2 separate regions of the Homo sapiens genome follow, and region 1 is linked to region 2. The links are contacts of gene promoters, found by promoter capture Hi-C in human tissues and cell types (Jung and others, 2019). All regions are on one chromosome and are shown on one strand. The core of a region is centred on a gene start or on the middle of the fragment in contact, and the rest is flanking DNA. Distances in the headings are between cores, read along the strand shown. Region 1 overlaps LOXL2 (lysyl oxidase like 2). Region 2 holds the start of TNFRSF10A (TNF receptor superfamily member 10a).

Evidence for each region. Contacts are between HindIII fragments. The study calls those that stand out against the background at their distance.
Region 1: a fragment that was not itself captured here is called in contact with the fragment with the promoter of TNFRSF10A in region 2 in 1 of the 25 tissues and cell types used here (aorta).

The regions. Positions count from the first base shown.
Region 1 is chr8:23,369,955-23,372,654 of GRCh38, forward strand. All of the region lies in intron 1 of LOXL2 (lysyl oxidase like 2), which reads right to left. Among named protein-coding and RNA genes, the nearest start is that of LOXL2, 33 kb to the right of the region's middle. The HindIII fragment of the contact is 3,539 bases long and covers 1-2,700 here.
Region 2 is chr8:23,223,676-23,226,376 of GRCh38, forward strand. TNFRSF10A (TNF receptor superfamily member 10a) reads right to left here and starts at 1,427. Exons shown (of 10, transcript NM_003844.4): 1 at 1,081-1,427. The coding sequence starts at 1,386. It overlaps TNFRSF10A-DT (TNFRSF10A divergent transcript), which reads left to right and starts at 1,546. Exons shown (of 3, transcript NR_033928.1): 1 at 1,546-2,448. RefSeq lists promoters at 919-1,955, 1,384-2,701, 1,384-2,037, a cis regulatory region at 919-998, silencers at 1,020-1,269, 1,437-1,628 and an enhancer at 1,680-1,819. The HindIII fragment of the contact is 7,664 bases long and covers 1-2,701 here.

The DNA.
Region 1 (2,700 bases), core at 131-2,630, 150 kb after region 2:
TCTTATTTTACAACAAAATCAAGAACCAGAGAGGGTTAGAGATTTTGCCAGAGTTGCACAGTTACTGCAAGCAAAGCCAGAATGGGTCACTCCCAATGTGCCATCCCATATAAAAAGTCCTGGTTCAGCTTGGATACAAAAGCCTTTATGTGTGGCACGTGCCTACCTTCCCTGCTTCGGTTCCCACGACGGTGTCTCCCTTCTCTCACCCCAGCCCTGCCCATGGCACACATCCCATCATATCAGCCTATACCAGCTTCAGCTTTTGACACCTAGAACAACGCGCCTCCATCCCCTCCCCTCCCCTCCAAATGGCACCTGGTGCAATCCTTCCTGTTCTTCACAGAGACCTTCCTAGGTCCTCCTATCAGATTGAATGTATTTCTGCTTCCCTTTGACATCACATTTTGCTGGTGCTTTACATTGTTGTCATGTCTGGCTCTGCCACCGGACCCTCAGGCCCAAGGGACAGAAACCACCTCTTTGTCATTTCTGCTCAGCAACACATCTGCCTCTGGATGTATCAGGCTACCTTGCAGTAGATAAAGCTACCTGCCAAGAACAACTAGAAAAGGAAGGTAAAATATTAAAAACATATGTTCGAAGACACGAGAAAGCTACCGAGGCACCAAGGACTGAAGGAACCAAGAATCCAGAGAGATGGGAAGGGCATTGAGGTGAGGCTCACTTTTGTCTCTGCTTTCCCCCGGAAGATACTCGCCAATTCCACGGCAGTGATCAACAGGCTGAGAAGCTAAGCAAAGCTGCAGGCAGCCTCCAGGGACTGGGGAGACCGGGAGTTCAGAACCTGCCAAGGACAAAGGGACCTGTTAAACAGCTCCAGGCTCTCAGATGCATTCCTGAAGAGCTGCACTCTAGAAGCCAGGGCATAGGAAGGTCTGACATTCCCATAAATGGAATCCCAAAGAAGAGGAGAGAAAGGATGTGCAGAGGAAATAATGGAAGAAATAATGGCCTAGAATTTTCCAGAATGACAAAAGACATCAAGCCCACACAGTATAGTTTACAAGGAAAACCACATCTGGGCACATCGAAATCCAACTGCAGAGAAGACAAGATAGAAAGAAAAATCTTAAACACAGGGTAGAGGAGCTGAGTTACCTTAGAAAGAGCAGCAGAAAGACTAACAGCTGGTCCCCTCAACACAAATAAGGAGACAAGACTTCAACAGCGCAACATTTTCAAAGGGCGGAAAAAAATAAGTCTGCCTAGAATCTGTGCCCAGTGAAGAGAACGAAGGTAAAATAAGGACATCCCAGATAAACAAAAGAGGAGCGAGTCTGTCACCAGAATACCCACAAGACGGAAATACTACAGGGAATTCTTCAGGCAAAAGGAAAAATCATCCCAGATGTCAGTAAGGAGGCGTAGGAAGGAATGAAGAGTATGAAGTAGGAAATGATGTAGGTAAATCTCAATGAAGATCGAGTGTGTAAAACAGGAAGAATGTCCTGTGGGGTTTAAAATACATGTATGATTAAAATGCATGGCAACTGGCTGGGTGCAGTGGCTCACGCCTGTAATCCCAGCACTTTGGGAGGCTGAGGCGGGCGGATCACAAGGTCAGGAGATCAAGCCCATCCCGGCTAACACGGTGAAACCCCGTCTCTACTAAAAATACAAAAAATTAGCCGGGCATGGTGGCGGGCACCTGTAGTCCCAGCTACTCGGGAGGCTGAGGCAGGAGAATGGCGTGAACCCAGGAGGTGGAGGTTGCAGTGAGCCGAGGTCACGCCACTGCACTCCAGCCTGGGCGAAAGAGTGAGAGTCTGTCTCAAAAAAAAAAAAAAAAAAAAAAAAAAAAAAAAAATGCATGGCAAGCGCAGCACGAAAGGCAGGAAGGCATTAAATGGAGCTCAAGTGGTTTGAGGTTCTTGTGTTGTCTGGGAAGTGGTAAAAGTACTATTGTCTATTAGACTTTAGCAAGTCTAATAAATGCATGTTGTAATCTTTATAGGAATCATTGTAAGAACCATATACTGAAAGAAAAGTACAACTAACAGGTTAATAAGGGGGTTTGGGGGAGAAATGGTAGAATTAAAAAATACTTGATTAATCCAAAATTGAAGCAATAAAACAAATAAAAAGTAACATAAAACAATTGTTACAAATAGAAAAAATATTAGATGGTGGGTTTAAACTCCAATATATCAGTAATTACATTAGATAAAATAAATACTCCAATTAAAAGACAAAGATCATCAGAACGAATATAACAAAACAATTCAGCTTTACATTTCTTTTTCTTTTTTTTTTTTGAGATGGAGTCTTGCTCTGTTGCCCAGGCTGGAGTGTGCAGTGGCGCGATCTCAGCTCACTGCAACCACTGCCTCCTGGGTTCAAGCGATTCTCCTGCCTTAGCCCCTCGAGTAGCTGGGATTCCAGGCATGTACCACCACGCCTGGCCAATTTTTGTATTTTGAGTAGAGATGGGGTTTCACCATGTTGGCCAGGCTGGTCTCAAACCCCTGACCTCAAGTGATCCATCCGCCTCAGCCTCCCAAAGTGCTGGGATTACAGGTGTGAGCCACCACGCCCAGCCCAATCCAGCTTTATATTTCTTAGAAGAGACACAGAGGCTTAATGTAAAAGGATGGAAACAGATATACCATGCGTACATTAACCAGAGGGAAACTTGTACGATCAAGCTGACCTTAACACAAGAAACATTACCAGAGA
Region 2 (2,701 bases), core at 177-2,676:
ATCCTTCAGGTACTTAGCTTTCGTTTTGTTTTTCCTTAACATAGAAGGAATCTGGATGAGAACAATTGGTAGAGCCTTAATGAACTTGAAAGAGAACTGAAGGCATTGGCATTTTTCCAGACTGAGTGATTGCTTTCACAGGAAACGCTGCCTCCTGAAGGAAGGGCGTGCCCCGCTCCTGGCTGCCTGCCTCGTGGTGGTCAATTCGCTGCCCTGTACCTGTTGATGCGCAAGAAAGTGGCTGGAAGGAAACTGCTGCCGGTGTGCTCAGTGGACTCGAAACGGAAGACAACGAGCAGAGGAGAGAAAGTTACTTTTTCCTGCCGGGCTGCGTGTTTAACCAATTTGTCTAAGAAAAGAAGGATGGAGGGCCGGGCGCGGTGGCTCACGCCTGTAATCCCAGCACTTTGGGAGGCCGAGGCGGGCGGATTTGGCTAACACAGTGAAACCCCGTGACTACTAAAAATACAAAAAATTAGCCGGGCGTGGTGGCAGGAGCCTGTACTCCCAGCTACTCGGGAGGCTGAGGCAGGAGAATCGCTTGAACCAGGAAGGCGGAGCTTGCAGTGAGCCGAGATCGCGCCACTACACTCCAGCCTGGGCGACAGAGAGAGACTCCGTTTCAAAAAAAAAAAAAAAAAAAAAAAGAAGAGAAGAAAAGAAGGACGGGGGTGGGGAGGGAATCAGGGAGTGGGGAGAATGGCGCTCCCCTTCACGCAGCTGGTGTGGCTGGGAGTTGGCTTGGAAGTTTACACACTTGAGCTCTATCGATTCCGAAACTTCCCGATACATCGTGAGGTGTGGGCAGGAGGGAGACGCGCCAGGCAGCAGCCAACGGGGTGGAGTCCCCGGGCCCAGCCTCCTGCGGGAGGGGGCTCTGCTGCCTCCAGGCCCGGGTCGCTCCTGCCTGGCCCCGGGGACCCCGTTCTTCCTCCGACTCCGACGACGGGCTCCTCCTGCCCGGACATGCCCCGCCACAAGTGACCCGGGCCAGGCACCCCCGCCGCGTCCCCCTCTCTCTCTGCCCCCTCCCGGTGCCAGGCGCGCTTTTCCCCAGGCAGGACCGCGGTGGGGACTCACCTGCAGCAGGACCCCGACGACGACAAACTTGAAGGTCTTGTGGACCCGGAGCCGAGGGCTGGCTTCCCGCGCCGGCCTGGGTCCTGGGGCGCGCCCTGCCCGGGCCCGGGCACTGGGTCCGTGCTGTCCCATGGAGGTAGGGAGCGCTCCTCGGCCCCCGCCTCGTGGTTCAATCCTCCCCGCGGAAGAGCCCCACACTTTGCTGGGTGTGGCCGCGGCTGCCTCTGTCCCACTCGCTGCGCTCCCGGGATTCGGAGTCACTGCCAGGAACGCACCTAGATGTACTCTAGCTGGTGGTGGCGCCATCCTGCCAGGTCAATCCAAGAAGCAGCGTGCTTGGCTATGACAAGACAGAACTTCGCATTCGGAGTTCAGGGCACCCCTGACCCCGCCCCCTTTTCGGGGCACCTGCGGCTCCTGTTGGCTAACCCTGAACTTCCTTCCTCTGTGACCGCCCTTGCCGCTCTCAGCTTCTGTTCCTCAACCACGGCCGCCGCGTGGATGCCGCTGCATTCGGAGTCGTTTTGCCACTTGGTCCCAGCGCCAGGCTTCTCGGTCGGGAGTTGACCTCAGCCTTTCTGTGACCCAGTTCCTGGCACCCAGCAGGCGCTCGGTGGACGGATGGGTGGCGGAATGAAGGACACAGAGGCCACTGCGGGGTCTGGCCTCTAAGAGGCTTTTACGGCCTCCTCCGTCACTACCGGGCGAGTGATTCAGCCTGCCTTTTTTTTTTTTTTTTTTTTTTGAGATGGAGTCAAGCTCTGTCGCCCAGGCTGGAGTGCAGTGGCACGATCTCGGCTCACTGCAACCTCCGCCTCCCAGGTTCAAGCGATTTTCCTGCCTCAGCCTCCTGAGTAACTGGGATTACAGGTGCCCGCCACCACGTCCGGCTAATTTTTTTTCTATTTTTAGTAGAGACGGGGGTTTCACTGTTTTGGCCAGGCTGGTCTCGAGCTCCTGATCTCGTGATCCGCCCGCTTCGGCCTTACAAAGTGCTGGGATTACAAGCGTGAGCCACCGTGCCCGGCTCATCCTGCTTTTGGTTTCAGGTCTCCATGCCAGTGAAATGTCACCTCAACTCCACCGTCCCTGGTGTCAGGCAAGCCCGAGGGACCCAATTCTGCCTTTCTTCTGGATTTTCCTAACCTGTTAAGAGTCTTGAAAGTCCTTAAACCACGGGAGACTATCTGGCACATGACACGGGATGAGACTTGGTGGGGGTCCCACGGGGGACAGGTCCTTCCAGCGGTTCCTCTGCACCCAGCGCTGCACGGGCATGGGGCGTGGGTAATCAGCCTCCCGAAAGCCACGCGAGTCACGGTCCTGCCTGCGAAGAACTCCCAGGGCGACCTTGGGGCTGAGGAGTGGGTAAGAGAAAGGGGGCGCTGATTGATGTTCATTTTTCTCCATATTTTAATGGTGTTCCGGTACCATTTGTTGAAAAGACTCTTTTCGACCGGGCGCGGTGGCTCACGCCTGTAATCCCAGCACTTTGGGAGGCCGAGGCGGGCGGATCACCTGAGGTCAGGAGTTCGAGACCAGCCTGACCGACATGGAGAAACGCAGCCTCTACTAAAAATACAAAATTAGCGGGGCGTGGTGGCGGATGCCTGTAATCCCA